Linked DNA regions of Homo sapiens: all the other regions are linked to region 1. The links are contacts of gene promoters, found by promoter capture Hi-C in blood cells and fetal thymus (Javierre and others, 2016). All regions are on one chromosome and are shown on one strand. The core of a region is centred on a gene start or on the middle of the fragment in contact, and the rest is flanking DNA. Distances in the headings are between cores, read along the strand shown.

Region 1 (4,580 bases), core at 335-2,834:
ATGACCTAATCGTGTCTTGCTTTTTTTTTCAGATGGGGAAACTGAGGCCCACAGCAACAATAATAACTGTGGGGATGATATCATTTAATATTGAAAATAAGTGGATAATTGAGACCTCCATTATTAGTAGTTAATTTTTAAAAATCAAAGATCTCTCCTAATTAGCTTTATGGAGCAAATAAATATATTTTCCATATTCAAATATGGCTGTGATTTCTACACAAATGGTGTTAACAATCTAATACAGCATAAAACATTGTTTAAATATCATCATACCCTATTCCTAAACAGTAACGTGTAATAGATCTCTGGAGCCCAGTGTTGTAATATAAACACTTCCCAGGTGTATTCCCTTGGTAAAGTTTCATTACTTCTCTAAACGTCAGTTTTCTTGTGTAAAAAAGAGACACTTGTGTCTATCCTACTTACTGGTTACAAGGATATAATAAAAATAGTGAACAAAAATAGTGTTCATAAAGTACCCTGCACAGCACCTGATTATAGACTTAATAAGGGAGGGCTCAATGGTAGTTGCGTTTTGAATTACATTTAATGCTTCATTTTACTTCACTGTCACAAACTACTATGCTCTGCGGCAGGCTCAGAAGTCTCTAGGCACGGGTGAAGTGCTACTTCTCCACTCCCTTAAATGCCCCTGTATGCCCTGAGGATACTCAATGCATGCTAACCACCAAACGAACGGATGACTCAGAGCTTGGAGGAAATCCACGGCAGGCTGGAAAGCAAAGGCGCAGCTTATGGCTCAAGGATTAGGTTGTTACCTTTTTAAATTATTGCTTTTCTTTAAAGAAAGGGCTGTGGGGGACGCCTTTCAGCACTAAGAGAAAACCTCAGAAATCCTTCCCCCTGGAGACCCAGCTGAGAAGACCACACCAGGCACAGGGCATGAACAATGTCAAAAAGCTACTGCCCTGCAGGACACTGGGGCTGGAACAAAGATGCCTCCCAGCAGCTGGGCAAGGCTGGCTCCCACACAAGAAAAGCAGGGCTGATGTGAGCGTCCCGCACGATCCCCACCTGCTGAGACCTAATCCTGGGTTATCTCTCCGCTGGCCCAGAGAAACCTGAAACCCCCCAGGCTTTTGAAGGGCTTTATCTCCTCTTTCCAGGAACTGGGCTCAGTCCCTGTACTCGCTCCGAGGTGCCACTGAGCAGCTGCTGCCCAGAGCCCAGGCGAGCCCTGGTCCCATTTCCAGCTTGACCAAGTACAAGAGGGGAGCCAGGGCTGCGGATCCTACTCCCTCTTGCTCCCCAGGCATCCGTCTCACAATTAGAAAACCCGTGTGGGGAGCAAAGCAAAAATCACATTTCACTAACAGCTACTCGGGGTCGGGGGCGGGCAGGCGGGAATTCCTACTTTCGCCATAAATTGTATGCAAATGGGTTCCTTCCCTGGCCGAGAGCCAGGAGTGAGTGCGTCTTTCATGAGCTAACCCTGTTCCGCTGGGAGGGCTGTTCCTTTAATTCGCCAACTGAAAAAGTGGGAAAGGATGTCTGGAGGCGAGGCGTCCCATTACAGAGGAAGGAGCTCGCTATATAAGCCAGCCAAAGTTGGCTGCACCGGCCACAGCCTGCCTACTGTCACCCGCCTCTCCCGCGCGCAGATACACGCCCCCGCCTCCGTGGGCACAAAGGCAGCGCTGCTGGGGAACTCGGGGGAACGCGCACGTGGGAACCGCCGCAGCTCCACACTCCAGGTACTTCTTCCAAGGACCTAGGTCTCTCGCCCATCGGAAAGGTAAGTCTGTTTTGCCCTCATCACTAGAGATCCTTATGATGTAAGGATTGCATTCCTGGTACCAAATGAGTTGTGATTTTATATTATAATTACAAAACATATGGGGTTTTTTTTTCCACCGCTGGAAAAAAAAGGAGTGTGTATTGGTTATATCAGATGCACCTTGACTTTTCTGGTCTTGTAATTTTGTTTGTTTTAACTTTATGAATAGTCAGACTTGGAAGGAACTTTTCGTAAAGTTGTTATCTTCTGCTGTTCTGCAGAGGAAAAGTAAAAATTTTCTCTTCAACTGCTCTCCTACTTCTAGTCTGGCTGATTCACCTGTATATATCTTTTATTTTGAGGGTTAGGGCAGTAGAGTTTTAAGGCAGACTTTGCTCATAGCCTGCCCCTGGGATGGGTTAGAGGGAGTTTGATAGAGGAGTGCAGGGAGAATATAAAAGTTTATATCTAAACAGCACTTACATAAAGTTTACAAAGAGTTTTGTACCCATTCCCTCATTTGGTCCTCAAAATATTCACCCTGGAAATGAGAGCTGGGGGACAGAAGAGAGGAGGTGGCTCCTGGGCCAGATGAATAACTGACAGGCAGCTAGAGAGTGGTGGAGAACAGCTTTACTGGGGTGCCTAGAGCCAGCAGCGTCCCACATGTCTCTAGAATCACCTCCTCCTCCTCACCTCTCATCACAGAAAGATCTGAGCAACAACATCCCCCAGGTATGGGAACCCTGCTGCCCCTGGTGTACTTTGGAAAGAACACAGGGGTTCTTCTCACCCATCAGTGTTGTAAGAGGAATAAGAGCTTAGGTTTGAAGCCAGAGGTGTTTGGTATTCTCCCCACCACCATACATATGACCCTGAGAAAGATACATCACTTCCTTAATCCTCAGTTTTCACATCTCTAAAATGGGGACAATAGCGTCTGCTGTCGTTTTGAGGAGAAAATGAGGTATAGAAAGATCAGCAATGACTGCTTAATAACTGGAAGTTTGGATAATCATTGTCATTGCCAAAAACTGCCATCACTCTGGAAGTTAAAAGAGGCATTGAGCCAGTCTTGGATTGTTTCTTGTGTGTTGTTCCTCAGCCCGCCCCCAGCCCCCGCTTTTTATCTCACCCAATCTGAGGGTGTCTCACTAGGCTGGCAGGTCTGAGACTTGGCTGTATTTTACAAGCAGGAGGTTGTGTTGGCACAGGTTGGAGAAAAGGTAGTAGCCCGGGGCTGGAAGTTAATGTCAAATTTTGATTCCAGAATGTCAGGAGGTTTTGAGTTTAGGCATCTGCAGATTCTAAAGCTGACAGCTATGAAGTACGATGCTGTTGGAAACTCTTTGGAAAAGCTTTCTGTCCGGAGGGAGGGCAGGACAGGGAGCACCACTTGAAGAATGAATGCCTCTTTTTCATGTTTTTGTAGACTTTTTCCCCCATTTTTACAGAGCTTTCCCATATGTGTTTTAGAAAGGAAAACTACTATCCATCCCAGCCAGGCAAGCCCAATTCAGGACTGAAGAAGATTTATTCAGTCCTAGACAACCAAGTGAAGAGTTTCTGGCTTTGTGCGCATACAAGTCATTTGCAGGAGATGTAAGTCAGCGTGCTTTGGCCCTTGCATTTCAGGAAGGTGACTGCTTTGTGGGGAAGAAAAAGGTGCACAATATGAGTATTCTCTGGTTTGCTCAAACAGGGTAAATTGGACAAGGATTGAAAGGGATGTTGCCAAGCTCTACAGTCATTAAATATTTTTTTCCTCTATGCTTTGTTTTAAAAACCTAGCTTCTCTATTTTATCCCACACTAACCTCCTCCTTCCCCACTCTAAGAAGTGACTAACGTTTCAGCCCTCAACTTTGTCATTCATATAATGGAGATGACAAACTATGTCTCACAGGGCTCTTGCAACATTCAAATGAGGTAATATATGGCAAACACTTGGCATAGTACCTTCCACATATTAAGGGTTCAATAAATGGAAACTTTTCTTAGTTTCTCTGTTTATCATTTTACAAGGACTTGTCCAAGATTAATATTCTAAGATCATGATTTTTAAACTTATTTTTAATGATGAAAATATTCATTACATGAATTTAGGGCAAACCCCCAGTATATGACAGGTAAATGCAGGGCTGCTTTGGTTGAAGTGGGGTCACAAGGTCTAAAACTTACACCTTTGCTCTTAGCCTCTGGGACATTGCCACAGAATCTTCAATGACAAAAAGCACATTTACAAATCATGAAACCAGGCTGTGTGCATTCTGGTTGCCATTCTGCCCTTCAACAAGGATTTTTGCCCCTCTGAGTCACCATCTGTAGCAGAAGTAAGAGCAAGTCCACAAATAGTGTAATAGACAGGAATATGAATGAGAAATAAAAGACTTAACAAAGGCTATTTTAATTAATTCTAATGACAATGATAGCCAAAATATATGATGAGCCTACTCTCTAAACTGTAGGCTTTTGTGGGATCATCCACAGCATGTCTCTGAGGTATGGACTATATTTGTTGGACAAAGAGATGGCTTCAAGAACAGGGAGACTGAATAACTTTACCAAGGTCCTAGAACTCAGAGTGATACAGCCAGGTTTCACACCCAGGTCCCCGTGATCACCAAGTCAGAGGTACATTCTGCCGTGTTCCTTCTGAATGCTTCTCTGCTTCTTGCCTGCCTTTAGAAGGAAAACACTTCCTTTCTGACTAAATATGCCCCTCCAGGCAGACTGTGGCCACCCATAAATACAGCAGTAGCCTGATCATATAACCAGAATGGAATTTGGAAAGAGAATTCAAGCTGACAGAATGAAAAACATATCCCCCTTAATCCTAC
Region 2 (4,850 bases), core at 111-2,610, 1.4 Mb before region 1:
TTTGGAATACATTTTATACATTAAGGAGAAGCACTGGGTCAGATATTTTACACATTGAATCCTTGAAACATTCTATTAAAATGGTAATACTTCTTATTCCTGTCTTACACAAGAGGATGCTAAAGGTAGGAAGCCCAGTTTTATTGGAATCCAAAGGTGGTTCTTTGCATATTGTGGCAGACTTCTGGTTTTGGTTTGGTTTTGCCTTGCTTTTCTTAAAAAATAAATTCTAATGACTACTCAGATCCATTTGCATTGATTGGGTATCCAGTAAGGGAGAGGTGGAAACAGGGAGGCGAGCTGGGCACCAGGGAAAAGCTGAGCGGGAACCAACATTGTTTCCACAGAGCAGAGACTCCCTGGATTCATGATCTAGATGGTTCCATTCATCAGTAGCCTCAAAGCGATTAAAGGAATGAGTAGACTATCAGATACTAAAAGCACACGAGATGAGAAGTCAGAGATATTGATGCCCCATATGCAAAGTAGGGTTCTCTGATGTGCTAGCATAGTTAGTAATTATTGAGAATGTAAAGCATTTCAGTCACTTTTAGAGGATGTGAAAGTGTGTCTGACCTTTACTCTTCCCTCATAATAGTCAAATCTCAGTTGCGCAATTTAACCAAGTGACCTTAGGCAAGTTAGTGGATCTCTCTGAATCTTGATATACTCATTTGTAAATTTGGGGAAATAAGCTAACTTGTGTTTTTTGTTGTTGTTGTTTTGGGTTTTTTTTTTTTTTTTTTTGAGACAGGATTTCACTTGGTCATCCAGGCTAGAGGGCAGTGGTACTATCTTGGCTCACTGCAGCCTTGACTTCCCAGGCTCAAGTGATCCTCCCACCTCAGCTTCCTGAGTAGCTGGAGCTACAGATGCACGATACAACACCCAGTTAATTTTTGTACTTTTGTAGAGATGAGGTCTTACTATGTCGCCCAGGCTGGCATATTGTTATTAAGCTGAAATGAGATGCAGTACATGAAATACTAGGCATAGTATCTAACATTGTGAATGCTTAAGTTATATCAATTGTCACTGTTATTCTGAATAATATTATTATTACTTGAGAGTGTAAGATAGAAATACAAGCAGTAGTTAGCAATATGAAACACTCTCACAGGGTTACTGTAAGTATCAGAAAAGATTAAGAGCTTAATAAACACTAGTTATTATTATTATCTCAATGTCCTTTAAGTAAAATGGGTTTTCTTCTTAGACCTCAGAAAGTAGGTGCTGTCTCTCCCATCTTACCTTCCCTTCTTTCTTTCTTTCTCCCTTACCGTCCTCTTTGCCCTCACCTTGGTTGGGCCCCCATCCTGGCGATGTCAGATGCAGTCGCACAGGTTTTGCTGCTCACAATGCTACCACATTCCAAAGCTCACCATTCCAATTGTAGACATCATAAACATGTATTAATCATTGATCAAGTGTCTTGTTCTAACAAATCAGAATATTGGAACAAGGGAGGGAAGTATCTTAAGAAAGAGATGATTTTTATTTTTCTATTGTTTTTCCAATTTGCACAGAGGCACCCTATAGGCTAGCAGTAATAGTCTGAGCTTTAGTTTTCCTGTCTGTACAATGAAGCCCTGAAACAGATGATGCCTCAGGATCCCCATGGTTTTGGGTCCTTGCAGGTCCAGAAGTGGGCACTGCACTACCCAAGTTCATGAAGTCAGCTTTGGGACTATGGAGAGCAGAACTGTGATATGGACTGTGATGCCTTAGAGACCTGTGGGTTCTTGGTCTCTCTACCTTAACCACAGGTACCTGTAAACTGGGGATGATAATCCTAAACTGCCTACCTCACAGGATTATCGTGAGGATTAAATGAGGAAAGAGCGTGCTTTGTAAGCCCTAATGAGCTGCACAAATTGGAAAGATTACTTACACCACACGAACACACTCATATATATATTAAGTATGTATGTGTGTTTATATTTTACATTGCAGTATGTATGTGTGCATGTGTGTATATATAGTATATGTGTGTGTATATATTATGTAAAGCTGTGAACTCATAGGGTTAGGTATGAATTAGAAGCTTGTAAAACATGTTTACTCATTCAGTGTAACCCAAGGCAGTTATTAAACAGTAGGAAAAACTGACCAGCTAAATTTTCCAAGCCTAAAAACGCTTTTATAGTTTTCATTGTGGATTGAAGGGTGACCTTGTTTCCTTTTCTTTATTTCAAGGAAAATTTTAACATAAATGAGGAAGCAAGGGAGTCATTTTAATAGAGTGAAAACCTCTATATGTGGGTGGGAGGGATAGATGAGGGGAGCTGAATGGAAATGCCAGTCACCCTCTCACTCTCCCCCCCTCCTCCTCCCAGATCATCTGCCCCGAGTAGCGGTGAGACCAGAAGTAAAGCTTCCCTGGTCACTCAAGGGCATCCATCTCCAGAAGATGCCCTTCTAGCTGGTCCTGCCGTGCCCTTCCTTCCTTCCTTCCTCCCTCCTTCTTCCTTCTTCCTTCCTTTCTCCTTTCTTCTTTCCTTACTTCCTTCCCTTCTTTCCTTTCTCCTTCCTTTTTTCTTTTCTTCCATCTTCCTTCCCTTCCTCCCTCCTTCCTTCCTTCCTTTCTTCCTTCCCTTCTTCTTTCCTTCCTCCTTTTTTCTTTCCTTTCATCTTCCTTCCTTCCCTCTCTCCCTCCCTCTCTCCTTCCTTCCCTTCTTTTCTTCCTCCTTCCTTTTTTTCTTTCCTTCCATCTTTCTTCCCTCCCTCCCTCCTTTCCTCCTTCCTTCCCTTCTTCTTTCCTTCCTCTCTTTTTTCTTTCCTTTCATCTTCCTTCCTTCCCTCTCTCCCTCCCTCCTTCATTCTCTTCTTCTTTTCTACCTCCTTCCTTTTTTCTTTCCTTCCATCTTCCTTCCTTCCTTCTCTCCTTCCTTCCCTCATTCATTCATTCATTCCTTCCTTCCTTCCTTCCTTCCTTCCTTCCTTCCTTCCTTCCTTCCTTCTTTCCTTTCTTCCTTCTGTTTTTCTTGTTTGCCTTGGTCTTGGTCTTTCTGACCCCGATTTTCTCTGTTTCTCTCTCTCTCTCCTCACCAACTCCTGTCTATGTCTCTCTATTTCTATCTGTCTTTCTAGGTCTCTGACCTTCTATCCACTTCTCTCTGATTGTCTTTTTTCTGCATTTTTATTTCTGGTTCTCTGTCTTTGGCCCTATGTGTTCTTATCTATGTCTCTCTCTTTCTCTCTCCATTTCTCCTCTGTCTCTCACTGTGGCTCTCAGTTTCTGCTTCAGTCTTTCTGAGTATTTTCTGGCTGTAGTTCTCTCTTGGTCTCTTTCTCTATTTCTCTCTCTCTCTCCTCTCTCTGTGTGTGAGTGTGTGTCTTTGTGTCTGTGTGTTGTGTGTCTCCTCTCTGTGTTTGTTTTTTGTGTGTGTCTCTCTCTGTCTCTCTCTGTGTGTCTCTATGTCTCTCTGCCTCTCTGTCCCTGTCTCTCTGTCTCTCTCTCTCACATACATGCATGCATACACATACACACACACACACACATTTGGAAATCTACCTCTCTCTGCCACCTCCCAGGTCCCACCTCCTTCTCAATGATTCACCTCAGCCTGGTTAAATGGTGTTGCTTGCATGACCAGAAAACCTGACTCATCTTTGCTTGGGCCTTCTCCCCACCCTTCTGGAGGCTTGTTGCCTCCAGGGATGGAGTGGGGAGGGGGATATGCTTTTTGTGTGTGTGTGCAAGTGCGAGTATGGAGGAGAACTGAGTTTGGGGAATGGGATGGGCTCAGGACCTCATTCAATCCCACTGGTGCTGTTTTTTTTTTTTATTATTATACTTTAAGTTTTAGGGTACGCGTGCACAATGTGCAGGTTAGTTACATATGGATACATGTGACGTGCTGGTGCGCTGCACCCACTAACTCATCATCTAGCATTAGGTATATCTCCCAGTGCTATCCCTCCCCCCTGCCCCCACCCCACAACAGTCCCCAGAGTGTGATGTTCCCCTTCCTGTGTCCATGTGTTCTCATTGTTCAATTCCCACCTATGACAACAGGTGCTGGAGAGGATGTGGAGAAATAGGAACACTTTTACACTGTTGGTGGGACTGTAAACTAGTTCAACCATTCTGGAAGTCAGTGTGGCGATTCCTCAGGGATCTAGAACTAGAAATACCATTTGACCCAGCCATCCCATTACTGGGTATATACCCAAAGGACTATAAATCATGCTGCTATAAAGACACATGCACACGTATGTTTATTGCGGCACTATTCACCATAGCAAAGACTTGGAACCAACCCAAATGTCCAACAATGATAGACTGGATTAAGAAAATGTGGCACATATACACCATGGAATACTATGCAGGCATAAAAAAGGATGAGTTCATGTCCTTTGTAGGGACATGGATGAAATTGGAAATCATCATTCTCAGTAAACTATCGCAAGAACAAAAAACCAAACACCCCACTGGTGCTTTTGGGTTCCCAGAGATTGCCTTTGGGGAGTCCTGGTCAGACTTGGGTTTGGAGCTTGGGTTCTTCTCCCACCCTAGGGGAGAAGAAGAAAGACAAATAGTCTCCCTTATCTACTGAAGATATCCCAGCTATTAGTTAATGGCAGGCTTTGAGGTGTATATTTAGAAAAGGGAGGGAAGTTTGGGCATTCAGCTGTTTTTAATCTTGGGACACATAGTTTGTGCAGTTCTGGTTTGGGAGGATCAAAAAGTGCTAAATACATGAGGATAATTCACTTTCCCTAGTTTGTTGAGTTTTTCCTTTCTGCTTACACCACACAAAGTGTTTCATGAATTGGTATTTTTTAAAATAACAGTGATAATAGCAAAGCTGCTGTTTATTATTTACCATACGCAAGGCAATGTGCTA
Region 3 (4,715 bases), core at 1,008-3,507, 1.0 Mb after region 1:
GCAGAACAAGGAGAAGTTGGGGGCTACCACCTCCTCATTACCATCATTAACTAAAACATCAAAGATTGAGAAACTTTGTGAACACAAGGAACACGAAGATAACTGTCCCAGAAAGCTAAACCAAGACAGTAACTGTGCTTAAACTTACATCATGGCTTTGAGCTTCCTAGCAGCCAAAGCAAGAAGGGAATATAATCACTGGCCAAGGTTAGGGTGACGGAGCAAAGGAAACACATTTATGAATAGAAGCACACTTGTTCTGGATACCAGTGAAAGAGGGATGTACTGACTGAATCTTACAGAAGGGACATGATACACCATTTGTTTCTGCACTGACTACATGGGGGAATCCTTTGATTCTCACATAAGCAGGGGTCTTAATCTTGGGACTGCCTGCCCGAAGGGGTCATTCCCAGCTCTAACAGAGAGGTGGCTGAGAGTATGGAATGTTCCATGCCAAGAGCAGGGAGGAAGTAAGGACAGTAGATTTAACCACTGGAGAAGGGAAATTCATAGAGAGGCCTTTGGTATTGCTGGCAAGAGTGTGAGCTCACAGACAACGGACCTGGGTTTTAAAAAATTCTCATTTAAAATCTTAAATTTAGGCTGAGCGCAGTGGCTTACGCCTGTAATCCCAGCACTTTGGGAGGCTGAGGTGAGAGGATCACCTGAGGTCAGGAGTTAGAGACCAGTCTGGCCAATATGGTGAAACGCTGTCTCTACTAAAAATACAAAAATTAGCCAGGCATGGTGGTGGGCACCTGTAATCTCAGCTACTCGGGAGGCTGAGGCACAAGAATCACTTCAGCCCAGAATGTGGAGGTTGCAGTGAGCCGAGATCGCACCACTGCACTCCAGCCTGGGCGACAAGAGTGAAACTCCGTCTCAAAATAATAAATAAATAAATAAAACCTTAAGTTTAATAACTACTGTATTAGTTTCCTAGGGCTGCTAGGAAATGTGTCTTCTCTCAGCACTGGAGGTCAGACACCTGAGACCAAATTTTCAGCAGAGCCATGTTCCCTTTGAAGATTCTGGGGAAAAGTCCTTCCTTGCCTTTTGCTAGCTTTTGGTGGCTGCCATCAATCCTTGGTGATTTTTGACGTGTCACTGCATCCCTCCCATCTCTGCCTTCGGCGTCACGCCACATCTTCCCCGTGCTTCTCTCTGTGTCCCTGTGTCTGAGTCTCCCTCACCATTCTCTTATAAAGATACCGGTCATTGGATTTAAAACCCCTGTCATCCAGTTCAACCTCATCTAACTAATCACATCTGCAAATCAGGTTCATTCTGCGGTTCGGGGTGCACATGGATTCTGGAGGGGGCACTGTTCAACCCACCACAAACACTCAGCTCTTACTCTATGCTGGGTACTGTCCTAGCGCATTGCAGGTGCTCACTCAACAATGCTAGGAGCTAGGAACTATTATTATCCCCATTTACAGATGAGGAAACCAAGGCACTGAAAGGTAAAGTGACTTGCCCAAGGTCACACAGCAGTGAGTGCCACTGTAGGCTGCCTGGCTCCCACGTCCATGGTCTCTACCACGCCTTTCCCAGCTACTCCACTCCCGGCTGAGGGATTCTGGGCAAGTCACTTCACTTCTTGGAGACTCAACTCCTCTGCCTGTAAAGGGGACAAATAGCACCTACTTCGTAAGCTTGTTGTGGGGATTTACTGGACACCTGTGGCACGTGTAAAGTGCCTGGTACACAGCCAGCACATAGCAGGTGCTCAGTGAACGGAAGCTCGTAACAGTCATCATTGTTAATGTCTCTATTATTTGCAAAGGCTAGGGCAAGCCTGGGGGCTGGAGAAGGAACTCTGGAGACAGGATACCTGGGTTCTGGTCTTGGCTCTGCCCATAGACTTCCCTGAGGTCTCTGGCAAGTCACTTCCTCTCCTTGGGCCTCAGTTTTTTCCTGTGAGAAATGGGCCCAATCAGGCTTGACCTGCTGGCTCACAGAGCTGTGAGGTCCAGATGGCATGACTCAGCAGAAAGGCCAGGTCGCTCCCCATCCTCGCATGCCCTCTGTGGGGGACTTTTGGGGGGCGGAGCCCAATCCTGGTGCTCCAGGGCCCTATTGTGCTTGGCCAATGCCTCTTCTGAAGCAGCCATCCCGGCCTCTTGGTACTGCTGACCCCAGCCAGGCTACAGGGATCGATTGGAGCTGTCCTTGGGGCTGTAATTGGCCCCAGCTGAGCAGGGCAAACACTGAGGTCAACTACAAGCCACAGGCCCCTTCCCCAGCCTCAGTTCACAGCTGCCCTGTTGCAGGGAGGCGGTGGCCCTTCTGTTGCTAGACCGAGCCTGTGGGATATACCAAGGCAGAGGAGCCCATAGCCATGAGGAGCCTCGGGGCCCTGCTCTTGCTGCTGAGCGCCTGCCTGGCGGTGAGCGCTGGCCCTGTGCCAACGCCGCCCGACAACATCCAAGTGCAGGAAAACTTCAATATCTCTCGGGTAAGGCTGCCGCTCTCTGTGGTAGGGTGGATGTGGTGATGGGGAGTCCAGGCAGATGGGCCCTGCTGGGCAAGTGCGGCCTGTCTCGGGGTCTCAGGCTTCCACTCAGATCATCTGGGATTATGGGATCCTTTGAAGGTACAGCTCTATCCCCTGCCATTCCGTGGGTCTCTTGGCTGACATTCTATGAGTCAAACATCCTCACCTTCTGCACTGTCCTCGTGGGCTCCAAGGGGAACCCTTGTGTTAATGGGAACCTGCTCCAGAGAAGGCTTTGTCCTGCCTGCCACTGCCCTGCAGCCCCCGTGCAGACACCTAGCTTTGCCCAGACCTCCCAGCCCTTCCTTCTCTAATGACTCCCCTCTCTCTGTGGCATCTTTCCCTTAGCTCTTCCTGTGTCCCCTGCCCACATCCTGGCCTGACTGTGGACAGACACCTGGGGTGGCACAGCGTGGGCATGTGGCCAGCAGCTTTTGGGTTGGGCATGTGGGGCTTATGGGAAGAGGTGAAGCAGGACAGAGATTAGGGTTGGGAGACATTCAGAGGCTTGGGCACAAGGAGAGACCTGGACTGGGGCAGGACACTCTCCTGTGAGTGTGGAGTGCCAGAGCTGCCTTCCAGCCCCCACTCTGCCCTAAATCCCGGGGTGGCTTTGAGAATACCCTTGCCCACCTGGGGCTGTCTCCATGTCTGTATGAAGGGTCTCAGAACCTTCTAGCTGTGGTGTCATGTGGGTTTTGTTTACTTTTAGGGACAAGGAAAGGTCGTGGCAGAGGGGCAATGAGGAGCAGGTCCCTGTGGCAGTCTGGGACGCAAAGGGTGTGGGGCACATTGGCCTGTTCCGTAGGAGCCTGAGGGCTCCTTCAGCTGTCCCGTGCACTTTCAGGAGGAAGAGGAAGCAGGCCTATCCTGAATGACCCCATCATGTTCATTATACTTTTGAAATAATTCCTAACATGGGGCTGTGGGCTGCCTTGCAAGGTGGGGAGCACCCCATCATTGGAGGAGTAAAAGACAGGACTCCAGCTCTTGGGGAGCAGTGGTTGATGGAGCTATGGACAGATCCCACATCTTGAGAGAGTTAGCCCTTCTGCAGGGCAGGTTGGGACCCCAGCCGCACACCTGCTTCCTGGGTTCGCTGTGATGCCTGAAACGCCACTCTTAGGGATCTGGCCTCCCTTGAAGGTGTGTGGCCTCTGATTAGTTGTAAGACATTATCCCTTAAAAGGATAAGTCATTTTGAGGAGAAGGAGGAGGAAGAGGAGGAGGTGGAGGGTGGGGAGCAGATGTCAGCCAGGTCTGCTTTGAGGTCTGAGACTGATGCAGACCCCCAGAGCTCACCTGCCTCCTAGATCTATGGGAAGTGGTACAACCTGGCCATCGGTTCCACCTGCCCCTGGCTGAAGAAGATCATGGACAGGATGACAGTGAGCACGCTGGTGCTGGGAGAGGGCGCTACAGAGGCGGAGATCAGCATGACCAGCACTCGTTGGCGGTGAGCACTAGGGTGGGGCTGGAAAGCTGAGAGAGACCCAGAGACCCACAACCTTCCCAGCCCCGTCCATCCTGGGAAGTTGCAGATCTCTGCTTCCAGTCAGGACCTTCCCGCTGAACCCCAGATCCCTCTACGCTCCTCCACCAGGACGGCCCTTTTCAGGTGTCCTATCTATTCCTCGAGGGCAGTGTCCCAGCACTGTGCCTGTTCTGCAAACTGCTCCTCCCCCTTGGGCATTCCTTAGCCCAGTGTGGGTACTTCAGCCCCCCAGGGACCCAACCTGGGAACTGGGCTCCTCTCTCCCCTGTCACCCATCATCAAGTCCTGCCCATTCTCCTCCTAAATCCCCCCCAACCTGTTCACTTCTCCCCTCTCCACTGCCACCATCCTGGTCCAAGCCACCTCCCTTTCTTTCCTGGTTGTCTGCCACAACCTCTCTACTCTTTCCTCACCTCTGACCTCCACCCTTCCACCCCATCCCCTCTTCACCCAGTAACCAGAAAGACCTTTTGAAAACTCACATCTGCTCGAGACCCTTCCATGACTCCCCAATGCCCTGGGAGTAAGATTCAAACTCTTGATGTGGCTTTCCAGGACCCTCCCAGCACCCAGAACTCCTGCCACACACTCTGCTATGTACTCTGAGTCCTACTCACGTGAACCTGCTTTCAGTTCTGGAACTCTCACGCCTCCAGGTCCTTGCACCTGATGTCCCTTTTACTGGGAGCACCTCTCCTCATTTCCCTGGGCTAATTA
Region 4 (4,965 bases), core at 1,669-4,168, 1.2 Mb after region 1:
ATAACCTGTTATCTACAACCCTGACTTTTTCTCAGATGCCCCTACCCCCCTCCACCCCTCCCCAGCCCATCTCTCCTTCATCACTGCTAAACTCAGGCCTTCTGCCTCATGAGGCCTCCAAAGCCCCTTGGAAATTATAAATTCCTTGACCGTCCTACTCATCGGCCTAAATAATTCAACAGAAAAAAATTTTTTTAATTATGCTACTTAAAAAAAAAAAAGCTCATTCCAAATATGTCAGAATGTGACCAGTCAGCCCTGAAGGATTTCGTTACTAAAAAAATAAAATCTCCCAAATGCAATGGCGATGATGGGAAATGTCAAACCTCTGCCATTGTCAAATATATTTCACAGAGATAATATATTTGACTTATTCCACTTAAACATCCAAATTTCCACAAAACAGGGTTGGGAATCTATGGACTGGGGCCACCAGTTTTCCCAAGACCAGCTAGTGGCTGGCAAAAGGAGCAAAGGGTTTCCTTTCTTGCCCCAGGTGACCCACCATCAATTTCCAATCCAAGGTCCCTCCAAGATCCCGCCCTGCAAGTCCTAACAATATGCTGTTTTTGGACAGAAAAATTGTAACTTTTGGGGGATAGGCTCAAAATCCCCAGCAAGTTCAATTAGATACTAATTTATCACAAAACGCTTCATCTTTGGGTGGGTACTTTATTCTCATCTGTCAAATTTCAATTCGGTCAATATTTATTTGCCTTCTTAAATTTTTTTTTCTTTTTTGTTTCACCTTCATGTGATTCATTTTAAGGCCAAAACCTCCACATGAAATATTGTTTGCATATATGCTTTCATATTCCAAAGGCAAACCTTGGGTTTGGCTTTTGTTTGTATTTTGATTATTTTTCCTTTATTTTGTTGCTGCTAAAACCAGCTGAGTTGGTGTTATATCACATTTCTTCAGCAAAGTAAGTGTTCTACCAAGGAAGATGGATAAGAATCAGAATTTTCATCTCCTTTTTGCCCATCCCTCTTTTATCTTTTTCTTGTTAAGTCAGTAAAATTTGTGCATTTTTTTTTTTTGGTCACAAACCCCCCAAAATGATCAAGGCTAATGGATTTTTCCCCCTTTGAAAGTAATCAGGTTTTTGAAAAATAACAAATATTGATAAACTACCAACCCCACATCACAATCAAAGAGGCCTGAAACCAATCTAAATTTTTTTTAAGTAATAAATTTTTCAAATTGGAAGGGTGAACAAGACAGAAAAGGGAAAATTTTCTTCCTTACCAAGGATTCCTCAATCCTTGTCTTCATCAATTGATTCAGTTGCATGTCATAAAAAATGAGCTTCTGTGAATCCACTGTTAGTTTTTTCATAATAATGTTAATTATGCATATCTTATTTTAATGGCGGTCTCTCCTACAAATCTGTGGGCTACTCAATTTGTATAATGTATGAATTTACATTTTTTCCACTTAATATTGCTCAAAAAAGGTTCCTGACATTTTCTGGATAAAACAACAACAAAAAAGAAATGCCTAGACCTTTCAGGAAACAAAATCAGAAAACAGTCTTAATTATTCCATCAAAACAAAAAAAACACACACACACACAAAACCCAACAAATACAGAAAAAAAGAAAGAAAGGATTTCACTGTAACTTTTCTAGTTTCTGTTTTCTTTAGAATCTTAGGATTTAAATGCAGTAAAATGTAAATGCAAAATTAAAAAAAAAAAACTACAATTTTTGGGTGTGTCCAAAGCCAACATTTTAGGTTCTATTTTCTCTTTTAAATCCTTCGTTCGTGGAAATAGAAAAACTTTAAATATTGCCATATAGAGAAATTAGTCTTTTTTTGCCCGCTGAGCTAAACAAGTTCCAAATTACAATGAAGTACAATTTCTAATTGCTTCATAAAGCCAATTCTCTCAGTTTTCCCTAAACTCAACAATTTCCCTCCTTTCTTTATTCCAATTAGTTTTTTTCTCAAACTAAAATGAGTTGGGTACCCAAACTGACTTTGCTTTTAGGAGGTTTTTTGCTTTCTCCCCTCCAAGAACTAAATTCATTCAAATTCCAGCTTAATTTTCATTTACATATTATCTGGATTTGGCTTCAGAAATAAAAATTGTCTCCATGCTTCTGGAAAGATCAAAGTGAAAATTTTCACCCGAAAAAAGAAAAAAAAAGAATCTCTTACCCCTCCACTGCCTGGTAGTGCAAACTTTTGAAAAAATAAGAAATAAAAAATATTTCTTTTCAATTTTAATTTCTTTTTTATTTACAAAATAGTATCCTCTAGGTGGCGTCGTTTTAATGGGAAAAAACTACCGTTTGAAGAAAAATTAGAAAAAAAAAATTGAGAAAGGAAAATATGGCCTAAAAAAAAAGATTGTTGCAAAAATGGGGGACCTGGGGGGAAAGACCTCCCGGGGGGTCATCGGGGACCCCGAGCGCAGAGAGGGTCAGGGGAAAATTGCAAATTTGGGGGGGAGGGGGCAGAGCTGGAAGGGGTTGCATTTTTGCAAAATGTGAATTGTCCAAACTGAAATGGCTGCTCTGTTCTCTCGCCGCTTTGTTTTCTGGGCTCCGGTCCGAGCCCGGGGCCGGAGGGGGCGCTGGGTGGGGGCCCCAAAAGACCCCCTCGTCACCCCCACCCTCCTCGCACCCCGCAGCGCCCGGGGGGGTGCTCTCCGGACCCCGACCCTCCCGATTGCGCCCACAAAAAGCCCGCAAACGTGCCCAGGCACTTTGCATTTTGCAAATCTTGCAATGAAGTGGCGCAGCGCCCCGGGCCCCGGCCCCCCGGGGTCCCCCGCGCGGTGCATGCCCCCGGCCCCCCGTCGTACCTGCGGAGCCGCCGCGCCGCCCGGCTGGTTCATGGGTCCGTGCGGGAGGAGGCGGCCCCGGCGCGTCCTGCTCCTCCCGGGCCGGGCTGCTGGTGCGCGCACAATGCCGCCGCCGCCGCCGCCGCCGCCGCCGCCGCTCCCTCCTCCGCCCGCCCCGCTCAGGCCGGGGGGGCGGGGGCGCTGGGGGCGCGCGGGGGGGGCGCCGGCCCTCGCCCCCACCCCCGGCCCGCACCGGCCGCGCCGCGGCAGCCGCTGCCGCCGAGCCGCCCCTCGCGGGGCCGCCGCCGCCCCCCGCCGCCCTGCCCGCCCCCGGGCCGGCCTCGCCGTGCGGCCCGCGAGCTCGGGGCCTCGGCCTCGGCCTCCGCGCTGCCGGCCTCCGCGTGGCACACAAAGCCGGCCGGTCCAGGGGCGCGCCCGCCCTCCCGTCCGCCAGCCCCAGTGCCGCGGCACACCCGCCCCCCCAAACTTTCCCGCGCCGCGCCCTGCCCTCCCCGCGCCCCCCGCGCCCGCTCCCCGGCTCCCTTCTGCCCTCCCCCAGTCCCCCAGCCCCTCGGAAATGTCATTTTCACGCTGGAAAAAAAGTTCAGGGAGCCGGCTCTCGGCGGAACGCAAGAGGTTAATGGGAACTCTGTACCCCGCTGTACCCCCCCGCCAAAAAAAAACCAGATTGATTTTTGAAATAAAAGTTTTCAAGAGCTGGCTTGCTGGAAGACTGGAAGGCTTATTGGGAATATTCTATTGCCCTGCCACTCCTCCCAAAAAAACTAATGTAATAAAATAAAAGTTTGAAGGACTGGCCCCATGTCCGACAAGAGTGGTTAAGGGGACTCTAGCCCCCCAGCCAGACTGATTTTTAAAATAAATACTTGAGGAGCCGCTTTTATGTGAAATGCCAGTGAAGCGGCTGTTTCTGCCTATCCTTGCCAAATTAAAATATATATATGTATTTCTAAATAAAAGTTTGAAAAACTGGTCCTACAGTAAGACAAGAGGGGTTAAAGGTTAAGGGATATTAGCGCCCCCCACCCCCATATCCCCCAGTTAGGTTGATTTAGAGAAGGAAAATTTGAGAAACTTGCATGTGAAATAAAACGTGAACCAGGATATTTCTTTCCAACACCCCAAAATAGCCAGTTTTTTTGTTGTTGTTATTGTTGTTTTTTTTTTTTTAACTTGAGCAACTGCCTCCTTGTGACTTGGGAAAGTTTAAAAGGGATTTTTTTTTCTATTCTCTTCCCTATTCTCCTAAAAAATCCGATTTTTTAAAAATTGAAAGTATGAAGGACCTGCCCTATTATAGAGACAAGGAGGGATTACTGGATCCATCCTACATCTCCCACAACTGGTTGATTTTTGGAATAAAAATGTTAAGAATTGCTCTTCTATGAGATGCAAGGTGAACAGAAATCCTTCTTTGCCCCTCCCCAAAAGAAAACTGCAAGGGTACTTTTCAAAAATAAAAGCATTGGAAATTAAGAGTAACCAGGTATCTTCTCTCTGCCCCCACCTTCAAAAATCAAATGTTCTTTTTTGTAATGTTTAAAGAACTGGAGCAATATGAGACAGGAAAGGTTACAGAAATGTTTTCCCTACAATCCTCAAAAAAGTTATTTTTAAAATTTTAGGAAACGGAGGCACTGTGTAGAAGACACCTCCTTTCCCTAATAAGTTAAATTGGGAGTTTAGCCCTATATGGGAGACATGAAATTAAGAAACACAACTCTTGCCCCCCTTAACAAACACTCATAACACAAGACGTTAAAAGGAGTCTTCTGGCCGGGAGTGGTGGCTCACGCAAATAATCCTTTTGGGAGGCCAAGGCGGGTAGATCACGAGGTCAGGAATTGGAGACCAGCCTGGCCAACATAGTGAACCCCTTCTCCACTAAATATACAAAAATTAGCCAGGTGTGGTGGCACACACCAGCCAGTAGTCCCAGGTACTCAGGAGGCTGAGGCAGGAGAATTGCTTGAACCCGGGAGGCGGAGGTTGCAGTGAGCCGAGACCACGCCATTGCACTCCAGCCTGGGTGACAGAGTGGGACTCCGTCTCAAAAAAAAAAAAAAAAGAGGAGTCTTCTAACCACTTCCTCCCAGACCCCTAAAAGTTGGAGATTCCTTAAAAATTGAAATTGAAAGTGGCCATTTTTCTC

Evidence for each region. The method cuts DNA at HindIII sites, captures the fragments that hold promoters and counts their contacts. A CHiCAGO score of 5 or more calls a contact.
Region 2: the fragment with the promoter of ASTN2-AS1 here is called in contact with the fragment with the promoter of TNC in region 1 in 4 of 17 cell types (M1 macrophages, activated CD4 T cells, naive CD8 T cells and 1 more); the score reaches 6.8 in M1 macrophages.
Region 3: the fragment with the promoter of AMBP here is called in contact with the fragment with the promoter of TNC in region 1 in 7 of 17 cell types (total CD8 T cells, non-activated CD4 T cells, neutrophils and 4 more); the score reaches 9.5 in total CD8 T cells.
Region 4: the fragment with the promoter of ZNF618 here is called in contact with the fragment with the promoter of TNC in region 1 in 1 of 17 cell types (neutrophils); the score reaches 6.0 in neutrophils.

Annotation. Positions count from the first base shown.
Region 1 is chr9:115,115,161-115,119,740 of GRCh38, reverse strand. It overlaps TNC (tenascin C), which reads left to right and starts at 1,584. Exons shown (of 28, transcript NM_002160.4): 1 at 1,584-1,759. All of the region lies in intron 2 of LOC124902255 (a long non-coding RNA gene), which reads right to left. It overlaps LOC101928748 (a long non-coding RNA gene), which reads left to right. Exons shown (of 6, transcript NR_110950.1): 6 at 33-202. RefSeq lists an enhancer at 486-1,305. The HindIII fragment of the contact is 3,799 bases long and covers 1-3,101 here.
Region 2 is chr9:116,500,793-116,505,642 of GRCh38, reverse strand. ASTN2-AS1 (ASTN2 antisense RNA 1) reads right to left here and starts at 1,360. Exons shown (of 12, transcript NR_033973.1): 1 at 1,299-1,360. The region is part of intron 19 of ASTN2 (astrotactin 2); the gene reads left to right. RefSeq lists an enhancer at 1-160. The HindIII fragment of the contact is 9,663 bases long and covers 1-2,046 here.
Region 3 is chr9:114,075,842-114,080,556 of GRCh38, reverse strand. It overlaps AMBP (alpha-1-microglobulin/bikunin precursor), which reads left to right and starts at 2,257. Exons shown (of 10, transcript NM_001633.4): 1 at 2,257-2,464; 2 at 3,817-3,959. The coding sequence starts at 2,348. It overlaps LOC107987120 (a long non-coding RNA gene), which reads left to right. Exons shown (of 3, transcript XR_001746905.1): 3 at 1-617. The HindIII fragment of the contact is 5,279 bases long and covers 1,664-4,715 here.
Region 4 is chr9:113,874,262-113,879,226 of GRCh38, reverse strand. It overlaps ZNF618 (zinc finger protein 618), which reads right to left and starts at 2,918. Exons shown (of 15, transcript NM_001318042.2): 1 at 2,814-2,918. The coding sequence starts at 2,846. RefSeq lists an enhancer at 4,494-4,965. The HindIII fragment of the contact is 22,796 bases long and covers 1-4,965 here.